Regions from separate parts of the Homo sapiens genome. Here all the other regions are linked to region 2. The links are contacts of gene promoters, found by promoter capture Hi-C in blood cells and fetal thymus (Javierre and others, 2016). All regions are on one chromosome and are shown on one strand. Each heading gives the region's core, a stretch centred on a gene start or on the middle of the fragment in contact. The rest is flanking DNA. Distances are from core to core; before and after follow the strand shown.

Evidence for each region. Contacts are between HindIII fragments. The CHiCAGO score rates a contact against its expected background, and 5 or more counts as called.
Region 1: the fragment with the promoter of TFDP1 here is called in contact with the fragment with the promoter of CDC16 in region 2 in 1 of 17 cell types (M0 macrophages); the score reaches 5.4 in M0 macrophages.
Region 3: a fragment that was not itself captured here is called in contact with the fragment with the promoter of CDC16 in region 2 in 1 of 17 cell types (M0 macrophages); the score reaches 5.2 in M0 macrophages.

What each region holds. Positions count from the first base shown.
Region 1 is chr13:113,581,876-113,586,111 of GRCh38, forward strand. It overlaps TFDP1 (transcription factor Dp-1), which reads left to right and starts at 2,878. Exons shown (of 12, transcript NM_007111.5): 1 at 2,878-3,013; 2 at 3,899-3,974. The coding sequence starts at 3,963. RefSeq lists enhancers at 727-1,700, 1,701-2,672 and silencers at 2,641-2,970, 3,341-3,710. The HindIII fragment of the contact is 39,044 bases long and covers 1-4,236 here.
Region 2 is chr13:114,232,207-114,236,461 of GRCh38, forward strand. It overlaps CDC16 (cell division cycle 16), which reads left to right and starts at 2,691. Exons shown (of 18, transcript NM_001078645.3): 1 at 2,691-2,926. The coding sequence starts at 2,879. RefSeq lists an enhancer at 2,490-2,539 and a silencer at 2,650-3,009. The HindIII fragment of the contact is 7,021 bases long and covers 1-3,955 here.
Region 3 is chr13:113,616,696-113,621,103 of GRCh38, forward strand. The region is part of intron 3 of TFDP1 (transcription factor Dp-1); the gene reads left to right. Among named protein-coding and RNA genes, the nearest start is that of TFDP1, 34 kb to the left of the region's middle. RefSeq lists enhancers at 17-580, 581-1,143. The HindIII fragment of the contact is 6,326 bases long and covers 1-4,408 here.

The sequences.
Region 1 (4,236 bases), core at 1,628-4,127, 650 kb before region 2:
GACACACACACAGCTTTTGCGAGATGAAGACTTTTCCTGGGAAGGACACGTTCACTTCTAGTAAAACACAGCACAGGCCATTTCCATGTAATATTTGGGACGGTAGCTGAATCTGGTGCCCACATGCACAAAACAAGACAGTATCTGGCCCCAACCATAGGGCTGAACCCAGCCTCTGGCATGTGGTGCAAGTCAACACCTGAACGAGTGCATCATTCAAAGAACCCTATCTCCTAAACAGCCCAGGCTCCAGAGATACAGGGAGGCCAAAGGCTTAGATAAATTCCGAGGGTTATGGGCTTATTTAGGAAGTTTGCATTTCAGCAACCCAATCGAGAGACTGCAAGGCAAGGCAGTGGCTAAAAATATTTGGATCATCAACCAAAATTTTAGAGGGAATTCTGTTAACTTTTGTTAAGAGAAACGAGGGCTTTCTGTGGAACATGTGGCTATGGAGAGGAAAAAGGGAGTAACTTTTTGCCCTTTTCCTAAGCCACACAGAGCACCGTGAGCATTCATTGCCGCAGTGCCTCGTGCGCGTTCGGAGTATCTCAGTACAGTGATTTTTGTGCAGAAACTTCTTTGAATAATATTAGTTATCAGCCATATAAACATTGTTGAATTATCAGAATCCTGAATTTGTGGGGAAGACGTTTAAGACCCCAATTTTGGACCCTACGTGTGTATCCTCCTAACTGGAGCCCCCAGGTCTCAGGGAGAAGTCCCCAGAGGCTGGGAGGGTGTCACTGTTGCCATCAGGGCTCAAATACTGACATTTAGGAACACATAAAGAATCCCTGTGAAACAGAAGGAACGGACCTAGGAAGATAGGGCCATTTGAGGAACATCAGTGTTCTCTAAGTATCTATTTGTGTGAACCAGCTCGCAGAAAGTGAGCGTTTCTGGTAGTCTTCAAAGAAGAAACGGGTGCTAACTTGTAAGCAGTTTAAGCCAAGTGACCAGAGCTTTAGGGGGTGCGGCGTTGCCTGAGGGGCAGGAGTGGCCAAAATCAGCATAAAACGTGCAAAGTGGGCTGTCATGTAATAATACACCGCACAGGCAGAGAGGCCTTTGGTCAGCTCCTCAAGTCCTCTGTAGATGTTCCTTACCCTCGGCGCGCACCAGCCTCTGCCGCCTGCTGTGGCCCTGAACTTCGGACTCTTCTCTGGCCTAGCCCGCCCTTGGCTGGGGTGCTCGGGCCTGGCCCTAGCGGCGGGGCCCTCCAGGGTGGATTAAGTCTCCAAGACTCCGGGACCACCAGGCTCACCATGCAATGAAACTGTTTCTGGAGTTTTCCTGTCCCTGCTTTCCCTCCCGAGTCCCGGGCCAGGCTGCGTCCGGTGGGCACCGAGGACGCCCAGAATTGTTGGGAATCTGGGCGGAGGCCCGTCGTGGGCTTGGAGGCCACCGGGTCCAGCAGAGGCAGAGGCCTCTGTGCCACGCACGCACACACACCTGCTCTCCTCCGTGTGTCCACATACACACGTCTATGCACACACCTGCTCTCCATACATGCACAGCCCCACACACAGTCGGCCCTTTATGTGCACACACACTCGTGCACACAAGCGGCCCCCTCTCCTCCGTGCATACAGGCGCACACACAGCTGGCTCTCCTCTTTGAGCACACACACTCAAGCACACACCCGGCCCCGCTCTTCCAAGTGCACACACACTCCTGCACACACTAGTCCCTGCTCCCCCCCCCACACTCGCGCACACAGCCGGCACTCTCTGCTCCCTGCACACAAACACACATCCTGACATACCCGGCCCCCTACCTGCTGCCCCATGTGCACACACACTAGTGCACACACCAGTCCCCGCTCCCTCACATGCACACACACTAGTGCACACACCAGTCCCCGCTCCCTCACATGCACACACACTAGTGCACACACCAGTCCCCGCTCCCTCACATGCACACACACGAGTGCACACACCAGTCCCCGCTCCCTCACATGCACACACTAGTGCACACACCAGTCCCCGCTCCCTCACATGCACACACTAGTGCACACACCAGTCCCCGCTCCCTCACATGCACACACTAGTGCACACACCAGTCCCCGCTCCCTCACATGCACACACACGAGTGCACACACCAGTCCCCGCTCCCTCACATGCACACACACGAGTGCACACACCAGTCCCCGCTCCCTCACATGCACACACACGAGTGCACACACCAGTCCCCGCTCCCTCACATGCACACACACGAGTGCACACACCAGTCCCCGCTCCCTCACATGCACACACACGAGTGCACACACCAGTCCCCGCTCCCTCACATGCACACACACTAGTGCACACACCAGTCCCCGCTCCCTCACGTGCACATGCACTAGTGCACACACTAGTCCCTGCTCCCCCACGTGCACACACACTCTTGCACACAGCCGGCCCCGCTCCCCCACGTGCACACACCAGCTCCCGCTCCCCCACATGCACACACACTCGTGCACATAGCCGGCCCCGCTCCCCCATGTGCACACACACTCTTGCACACAGCCGGCCACCTCTCTCTCCGGACACACACAGTCAGAGGCGCGCACAAACACAGTCCCTTGGCCGCCGAGCGCACGCCGCGCGCGCGCACTGCCCGTCCCGGCGCAGGCCCCAGCTACATCTCCGCACGCGCACGCGCACACACGGACACGCGCGCACAGCCCCTCCCCGCTCTCCCAGGGCGCGCAGCACTGGCGGGAGGAGCGGGAGACCGAGGAGCAGCAGAAGAGGAGGAGGAGGGCGCCGAAGGCGCGAAAAGGCGCGCAGGCGCGCTGCGCGGAGCGGGCCCGCCGCCGCCCACGTCACCGCGCCGCGCGCACGTCACGCCGGCCCGACGCTCGGCCAGGGTGAGCCCCGCGTCCCGGCGCCACTCGGCCCAGGGCAGGGACCCCGCCACGGCCGGGACCGCCCGGCCCGGCCCCAGCCCGCGCCTCTCCGCGCCGCCCCGCGCTCCGCACCGCGCCCTCTCCGCGTCCCCGCCCGCGCGGCCGGACCGGGCAGCCAGGTGCGGGTGGGCAGGGGATGCCGCGGGAGCCGCGGGCGGGAGCCGGGGGTGCGGGCGGGACCCCCGGCCACCCCATCCCTTGCCCCGGCCGCGTGTAGGCGCCGCGCGGCCCCGACCCGCGCCCTCCCGCGCCCTGCGCGCTCCTGTGCCTCGGGGACCCCGCGCGCTCGGCGCTGGTAGGGGCTCCCCAGGTGACCGCGGGGCGGGGGTCCCGGGCCCGGCCCTCCCGGCCGACAGCAGCGTCCGCGCCCCACGCTGGAGGTGGGGCCGGGGCCGGGGCCGGGGCTGGGGCCAGGGTCGGCCGGAGCGCGCAGGGCGGGGGAGGGGAGGCCGCCCCACGGCGGCCCGCGGGGACCCGGTTCCGGCGCGCGCGGGAGGCGCCTCGTGCGGAGGCGGCCCGAGGCCTAGTGACAGGCGCGCGGCGCGGACCCCGGAAGCCCACCTGTCAGAGTTACCGGTCAGCCGGGCGGGCGCCGCCGGGGTCTGGGGTGGACGCCGCGAGCCTGCACGTTGCGCCGGGACCCCGGGGCTGTGCCCAGGTGGGTGGTGGGGCACCCCCCTGCAGCGGCGGGAGGGAGGCGCTGCGCCCTGGCTCCTGGGGCTCGGCCCCACCCTCGGCCGCTGGGCGGGCCGTCGGGGACCTGGGGGTAGTGGTGGTGACCCTGCGGGCCCGCGGGCCACTTTTCCGCAGGGGGCATTTCCGTCTGGCGAGGCGACTGAAAATCCTGAGTGTGGGAGTCGGTTTGGCCAGCTCCGCTCTCAGGATGGAGGGTGCCTTTGGGAAGGAAGGTCCGCGTTTCCTTTGAGATGTGTTATTTTTTAAACTTCGTTTTTCATTCTTACTTATTTCTTGTTTTTCCTTACTTTTTTTTTTTTTTTTACCAGAAAAATCATTTTTCTTCTCTGGGAAGGTGAACATTTGTAGCATTGATTTCCCGGATCTGGTAACATGGCAAAAGATGTAAGTATGTTTGCTTCATGCTGCACACGAATGTTTGCCTCGCACTAAATTCTTTGTAGTTCTCTGCCTTTATTTCAGAATGACAACACATAAGCTACAGTAGTGTTTATTTTCAGACTTTTAAAGCGTCTGAAGCGGGATGAAGGTGAAAGATGGAAGGATCTGATCTCTGAAGCTGCGGTCACCACCCACAAGTTGTGGCCTTGGATACCACACTGCAGTTGGGTGGTGATGGGGTGGTGCCTTCTGACTTTTTCCTTAT
Region 2 (4,255 bases), core at 1,441-3,940:
GAACTGGGTAATGGGCAGAGGTTGGAAAAATGTGGGGGGCTCAGAAGAAGACAAGAAGATGGGGGAAAATTTGGAACTTCCTAGAGACTTTTAAATTGTTGTGACCCAAATGCTGATAGTGATATGGAGAGATGGGCAGGCTGATAAGGTCTCAGATAGAGATGAGAAACTTACTAGGAACTGAAGCAAAGGTCACTTTTGCTGTGCATTAGCAAAGAACCTGGCAGCATTGTGCCCCTGCTCTAGGGATCTCTGGAACTTTGAACTTGAGAGTGATGAGTTAGGGTATCTGGCAGAGGACTCCTGAAAGTGATTTCTGTTAAATCTCGCCCTGGCAATATTAATTACAAATTTACCTTCCAGGTACAAAACAAGGACAAGATGAGATTAGTCACTCTTCTGCCTACCCTGATATGGGCTACATAACTCTTTCCTCTACTCCCTCTTGTCAGATGTTTGCCTCATCTTATGTAAATTGTTGGTTTACTGAGCACTAATCAGAGCATCACTGTGGACCCCTCCCTTTTTTTCCTCCTGCTTGCCGTCTCCTCCTAAACACCCAGTCCCCATAACCCTATTTGGATGGCACAGTTGATGCTTCTGTGGCTTGCGTTTTTCCCGGGCCCATCATCAGACTTCTACTGATGGAGACATTTGCCTCAGTCACTCATTTTTGGTTAACTAGGAATCTCATTAAATGGATAGAAGTCGTTGAAAATATGGCTTAAAACACACCTCACCACATGCCTGCCCCAAGTTAATGAGCAGAGTTGATTACTGCCTGCTTGCAGAAGTGGGAAAGGAGGAGGAAAAGGAAATATACAGGGGGACAAATTTTTAAACACAACTTCAAAATATTACCCAGTCATATATGTATACACACACATAGAAAATTACACGGCAGATTACTTACAGTAGCGTGAGAGAATTTTTGAGTGGGTGGGATTCTTTACAGCAAGTTTTTTTTTTTTTGCTTCTTTGAATTTTTTTTACTCTTTTAGGTTTTTATATTTATAAAAGTTATATTTACTTTTTAAAAGTGTCAACCTTAATATTGAGATTCAGAAATATGATTACATATAGTGTGTATTTGAGCACAGAGCCTGAGAATGGCCACCTGGACAAATGGGGTCAGCCTTTCCAAGTGGAGCTCAGGTCTCTCTTACCAGGCGGAGACAGAAGCTCCAGCAGGATCACCACAGTTCTCATATGAGACCAGGGGCACACGCCGCAGCGGTTCCATTGGTTAGGGATCTCTGTATTTGAAGGAAGATTGCGTTATAACTCCATGAGGAGGGGTAGTGATCTGAGGGGGTCTTATCTCCGGTGCCATTTGGTCTTTATTGTTTACAGGGAAAAAGGCAGAAGTTACAGCTGGGTGTGGCATGACCTAGGCCGCGTAGCCACATTCCCCTCAAGGCTCAGGTAATTCAAAGTTCCAACAGCTTCAAGTTTAAATTATTTTAAGTTTGAATGATTTAATTTCACAAAAGGTAATATATGCACATTGACTGAAATTCAAAAGCACAAAAAGATATCCAAGGAAGTACCTCTCCCACTTCTACCATCTCTCATCTTCCAGCACTCCTTCCAGAGGCCTTGCGCTATGCCGGTTTTCTCATTTTTCCTTCCTGGGACAGTTTAGGGATTTTTCTACCTATCATTAAATTCGTATTTTACTCAAATGCAGGCATACGATAAACACGATCCTATACTTGCTTTTTCCCACATACTATATCTTGAAGATCGTTCAATGTCCATGCAAAGCTGACTGTTCTTTTGAACAGCCAGCGAGTATTCCATTACGTGAGCGTATCATGACCTATTTACTCAGTTCCATACTTCATGGGTGTTTAAATTGTCTGCAATCTTTTGCTATTACAAACGAAACCACAGGTCATTTTGCACACATGCAAAAATGCAAATCCATGGTATATTTCCCAAAATAAAAATCATTAGGTTTAACAGCACGAACACCTTTAAATTTGGAAGATATTCCAATTCGTTCATCCTAGAGAGTATACCAATACCACTCACAAAACTTGAGGGTGCCTGCTTCCCGACATTCCTGCTAGCAGTGTCATCAACCTTTGTGATCTTTGTTAACATATGAAAAGTGGTACTCTAATTTTAATTTTTATTATGAATTAAGTTGGACTTTCTTTCGTATGTTAAAGTCTATTTGCATTTCTTTCCCTGTGAACTGTTTTTTGCCTGTCTTTCTCCTGAGCCATTGGTCTCTTCCCACTGACTTATTACATATATGTAAAGGGAATATTGGCTCTACATTATAAGGAAATTCGAATTTTGTGATAGGTTTCAAATTTTTCCCTAGGTTGTCTTTGACTTCATTTGCTGTTTGTGCACACAATTTTTTTTTTTTGTAATGAGAGTGCGTTGCTCTTATTTTTAAAATGTTGACTACATTCTGGGGAAAGAAGGCTCAGCAGCCACCTGCTTTTTTGCCCGGGTGGGTGGTCCGGCCCCGAGCCCTCCTGACTCTCTCGCCAATGCCCAGAGGCGCCGCAGCGATTCCAGGGAGGCCGCGCTCTCGCCCCAAGGCAACCAGAAGCCCACGTGCCAGGAGAGGCATCGGAACCAACAACTCGGGTCCGTTTTCCCGCGCCAGATGGGATTCGTTTGCTGTGGACTTCCGGGGCGGGGCCTGCCTGGAGCGGAAGAGCCTGGGCAGTGCACGGGGCCTGGGTGGGGGGTGCGGGTGTGGGTGGGGACCTGCGGCCTTCGAGTCCGCGGCCTTCGAGTCCTGGGGCGGCGGCGGCGGCTGCAGGCACGGGCACGGGCACGGGGCGGGGTGCTTAGGGTGCAGGAGGCGCGCGCCTAGCGGCGGAGTGTGGCGTGAGGCCGGGCCCGCGCCGCCATGAACCTAGAGCGGCTGCGGAAGCGCGTCCGGCAGTACCTCGACCAGGTGGGCGGCCCCGACTCGGGGTGCGGGGCCCAGGCCTCGCCGGGTCTTTTTCCGCGCGGCGTGGGGCTGGGGTGACTGTTGTCGGGGCTCTTGGTGGGGAAGGACTGGGCCGGCCCTGGGCCTTCATCTGGGGCCAGCAGCGCTGTCTCCGCCTCGCCCAGAAGGGAGCGGTCCCTGCAGCTGGGAGGGGCACAGCCCGGGGAGTGGAGGCCCCCGAGCGCACGGGGCGCCTCAGTCGGGTCTGAGCCTCGTTCTGCACCTGGCGCGGAGGAGGTGCCCAGGAAACACTGACTACTCAGTGCAAGTTGAAGGACAATTTTTGGAGGAAAGTTGCAGGGCTAGCTAATAAAACATTTTTGAGAGGTTTAGTTGTAATTTTTACTGGGCTGAATTTAAGTGAATAAAGATGTGAAGAAGCCTGTTGTCTCAAATCAATACTTTAAAAATTCTCGTTAACTATGTCTGTGTTCTCTGCACTACCTTTGAATAGCAGAGAGCGTTTAAGGCAAGAAGTGTCTTCGAGAATCAGCAGCATCAGTTTTATCTATATTGTTGTTTATTTTTTGTTGAAATGCTTGCTCTTTCAGGAAATTGGAAAGAAAGGGAAAGAAAAGCCATGGTAATGCAGAGTTTTCGGAATTGGGTGCTAACTGACGTGGCCAAATGTTTGCAGTCCATTTGGAGGGCTGTGTTTTTATTTACCATGAGTCAGTTGAATTCAGTGTTTTCTGATCACTTTTTCTTCGGTACGGAGACGTAGTGAGGAATATGACAGGCCCGGTTTCCAGCCAGAGACACCGGTATTGAGCATATTTATAACTATCCCGTTGGCATTCCTCCTGCCTCGGGCTAGCAGCAGTGGTCCTGGCTTGTCTCCAGGGGAACTGAGGCAGAGACTGTAGAAGACTGAGGACTGAGGAGCAGAACAGGGTCTAAAGCTAGCCGTAGGTCACTGTGGGTGGCCCTCATTGTCGGCTCCTTCATTTTTGTTAGACTTGGAGGAGGTGAGTTCTTCCCCATGTTCAGTGAAGCTTAGTTAATTTATGTGTGTGTGTTTTTAAACTTGAGTGTTATTAAAACTGCCACTGTGTTATATAAGGTATTTGAGTATAGTGTTCTGTCTTCTAAATTTCACTTTGGGATTCATTAACAGCTCGTTGAAAGTGTTATATAAATCACACATGAATTGTTAATGACTAGCTTTTGCTGTTTCACTTGCATTTCACTTGTATGTTTCACGATACATTTTTACAGTGTATGAGTTTTAAAAAATTACCTTCATAAGTTGCATATACAAAGATATTACAGGAATGTTTGTATTGCGACACT
Region 3 (4,408 bases), core at 1,909-4,408, 620 kb before region 2:
AGTGTTGCTTACGTAATTCCTCACTCGTGACCGTCGCCTGTGAACTAACTGTGCCCCTTGCCCCCCGACACACGCACTGGTCTTTGTAGAGCTGTTAGGAAGGGGGTTATAGGAAGGGAGGGTATAAGTTTTGGTTGGCCTCTTCAAACTGCCAGCCTCCTACAAAACTGTCAGGAGAGGCCATCAGCTTTTTCTCTCTTTGTATTTCTCTGTTTTTAACCCGAAGGATGTTAAAAGCCCAGCCTCTGTTTTTAGCCCAGTCATGACATTTCTGTGGCCGTAACCCTTGTTCCAGGTGTGAGATGGTGACTCTTGGATGCAGGGTAGCCTCCCAGAGCTTTGTGTGTTTGTATAGAGAGGTTTGTGGGAGTGACTTGAGCCGTGCTGTGAACTTGGACTAGCACCCGTGTGTTCTCAGGAGCGGGTCCTGCTGGAGGCCCAGCCACGTCAGGCACAGTAGGTGTGTGATTTGTGCAACGGAGGCCTCTGATAACTGCCAGAGTAGATAGCTTTTGTGTGGGAGCTGCCTCAGCCTGCATTCCAGGAGCTCAGGTTTCCTGAGTCTGAATGGAGTCTGGAGAGAGCAATGTCTCCATGGAGCGGGTGCCTGGCTGTGGTCGCTTAGGCAGGAGCTTCCTCCTCAGTGCTGACAACAGAGAAGAACATTCTGTTGTGGCCAGTCAAGTGTGCACAAATGCTGCTTGCGAGCCAGTCACAGAGGCACTCACATGCAGAGCCGCTCACCTGCAGAGCCGCTCACCTGCAGAACCGTTCACCTGCAGAGCCCTTCACCTGCAGAACCGTTCACCTGCAGAGCCCTTCACCTGCAGAACCATTCACCTGCAGAGCCGCTCACCTGCAGAACCCTTCACCTGCAGAGCCGCTCACCTGCAGAGCCCTTCACCTGCAGAACCCTTCACCTGCAGAGCCGCTCACCTGCAGAGCCGCTCACCTGCAGAGCCGCTCACCTGCAGAGCCGCTCACCTGCAGAGCTGCTCACCTGCAGAGGGGTTGTGCTTGGCCAGATAAGCAAACAAAACATCTCCAGCATGGTGGGCAAAATAGTAACTCTTAGACATCTGGCTCTGACAACGTAAAGATGTTAAAATTGTTTTTCAGAAAATACAAAACTGTATGGTTTCATAATTTATCTTAAGCCCTATAGATATTAATAGAATAGGATTAGTAATGATAAAAACGTGAATACTATATTTAGACTCCTTTTTCTGTTAATGGATTATAGCAACTGAGACCATATATATTCTTAACTAGTTTTCTTCCCAAGAAAGGAATTCTCCATTTAAAATGCTGTATATAAAATGTTTTTAATTAGTTCATTTGAAAAACGCTGTGTAGTGCCTTTTACAGTTGAAACAATATTATTTCTATTGAGTTGGCTTGTGGGCCATGTCTTCATGTGACTCAGCTTGTCCCTGAAATGTTAGCCCTCCTCCCTCCCATGCATAGATTGTGTGGCAGTCTTATCAAGAAAATGTGTGGAACACTCTACTCTACTTATATTGCCAGATTAAAACTAAATGATTGGCTGGGCGTGGTGGCTCACACCTGTAGTCCCAGCACTTTGAGAGGCCAAGGCGGGTGGATCGCTTGAACTCAGGAGTTCAAGACCAGTCTGGGTGATGTGGCGAAACTCTGTCTCTACAAAAAATACAAAAATTAGCCGGGTATGGTTGTGCGAGCCTGTAGTACCAGCTACTTGGGAGGCTGAGGTGGGAGGATCCCTTGAACCGGGAGGTGGAGGTTGCAGTGAGCTGAGATTCTACAACTGCACTCCAGCCTGGGTGACAGAGTGAGACCCTGTCTCAAAAACAACAACTACTACTACTAATTGAAATAACATTCTATCCTGAGGTGGACAAAAAAAGTGGTGGGGAGCGGCAGCCTGGCTGCCACTGGTGCGTCTGGCCTGGAATGACCACTTGGGGAGCTGGGTGGACTCTGGGACAGCGGCCGCTGGGACCCGGGCTTCCCTGGTGGCAGGTGTGCCGAGGAAAACACACAGCATGTGGTTCAGTAATAACAAACAGCATTTTCATATGACATCTGTGTTCATATGACCACTTTATTATAATGGCATAGCATAACAGCATTTAAGGAAATCAGCCTGACGGCTCTATGTATGGGTAAATCTGAAACACAATGTTGGCAGAATTGCAGAATGCGAGCCATATAATATTTGTCTGTGTTTCAGACGCACACAAAAACAATCATTTATAGCCTTAGGTTCAGCACATCCTGGAAAAGTATGAAAAATAAAGTGAGTACGTCCCTGCAGGCCCTGGGAGTTGCACACAGGGCAGACTCGGGGGGAGGCTGAGGATCCTGGGGACTGTAATTTTATTTCTGCTCTTTATGTCTCTATGAAACTTGAAGCAAGTATGATGATAACAGTGAATTTTAAGTGTACTGGAATAAAATTGTCATGTTATTGTTTGTATTTGAAAAGTTTCTCAGTGAATAGAAACAAGAAGCCCGGCTGGGCGTAGTGGCTAACACCTGTAATCCCAGCACTTTGGGAGGCCGAGGCAGGCGGATCACCAGAGGTCAGGCGTTCAAGACCAGCCTGGCCAACATGGTGAAACCCTTCTCTACTAAAAATACAAAAGTTAGCCAGTGTGGTGGCAGGTGCCTGTAGTCCCAGCTACTCAGGAGGCTGAGGCAGGGGAATCGCTGGAACGCGGGAGGCGGAGCTTGCAGTGAGCCGAGATCATGTCACTGCCCTCCAGCCTGGGCGACACAGTGAGACTCCATCTCAAAAAAAAAACAAAAAAAAAAAAAAAAAAAGAAGAAGCCCACCCACCCAGGTCTGGCCCCAGAAGCCACTGCCACTGCCCTTTCCAGCCTGTACGTCTGGGTGTGGGTCTGAGATGTATTCAGGGAGGGGCCTTGCTGCTCGCTGTGGTCGGGTGGCTGTGCAAGCTCAGCCCCTATCTCCAGGCCCTTCTGAAGTGCTGCTCGGGGCCGGACAGGGGGTATTCACCCTCAGCCTCAGGATTTCTTTCTTCTCCCTGTTACTGATGTACGTACCCTGCCCTCTGTCCCGTAGAGACTCAGCTGGTGACCCAGGGGTGCTGCTGGGTTGGTGTGGTGTGCCACTCAGAGGTCCTCTGTTGGTTTGTGTCTAGGCTGGGAGGGGCCCTCTGTGCTTGGCAAGGCCTTGGGCTCCGAAACCCTTTACCTGCAGCTGGTGTGGGGGCTCAGACTCCAGGTGGACAGCAGGAGTGAGTGGGGAAGCTCAGGGGCCCTGGATGTCTGCCTGCATTCACTCATCCTGCCCTGGGTACCAGAGGAGGGACCCTCTTCCCTCTGTGTGTTTGTCTCCCCCTTCCTAATTGTGAAAACCCTTAGCGACCCACCCCAGCCTCACGGTGCTGGCCTCTGGCCCAGAGGGAGAGACCTGGTTGGAAGGACAGATGGTGTAGGCAGGCCAGCCGGCCGGCCTGTGGGTGGAGCAGATGGAGGGCAGGCCGGATGCCCCGAGGGTCTCAGCTACACTGCTGTCCCACAGCCCCACCACCACCTGAATCCCTGAGTCCTACCCACACTCCCTGATGGGGCAGGAAAGGGGAGCCCCAGACTGGGATGCCTGAGTGTATGCTACCTGTGGTGCTGGTGGACGGGCGCCGTGGCCTGGCTGTTCAGGACGGAAAGAGCCGCCTGGGCTGCTGATGGAGAGTGACAGTGCCACTGGCTTTTGTGAACTCAGAGGTCTGTTTCTTTCTTCACATTTATTGAAATTAGAGACTCGTTTGCAAATTTTAAAAGATGTTATCTTTGTAATGAATCAACTACATATTCTTGAAAACTGAGTGTTTACTCATCTGTATGTGAATCTGAAAAGTGTTTAATTGCGTACTTTAAATCATTCCCTGCATAGTAGAATATTATTTTTGCTTTTAAAATGCCTTTCCCTGGTAAGTATTACACCGTGTATATGTGCATCCAATCATCACTGGTACATTTCGAATATGTACAATCTTTACTTTTCAATTGAATATTCTGAAAATACCTTTCACATATATAAAACAATAAAAAAGTAAATATTTGCTTTTCTTAGGATGCACACCTTTATTTTTGGAAGAAAATTTCCCAAAGCAGATCATCTTATTTTAGTTCCAGAAGAGAATTTTAAATATGTGCTGACATTGGTTGGTAAAAATACTAATATTTAACCCAGTTGAATCAAAAGGCAAATGTCTTTTTAATCACTTCCTAATGATCTGTCTTGGCCAACTTAGGTTATTAAGAGAAATTACTAAGTGTCCTTATGTAGCACAAAATTCATTGTTTAATATATTTTAAAGAAATGCATAAAAAGCAGTAGATGTTTTAAAAATGCATGGGTTGTAAAGGGCCCCAAAATGAAACTTCAGATCGCAAAGGCAAT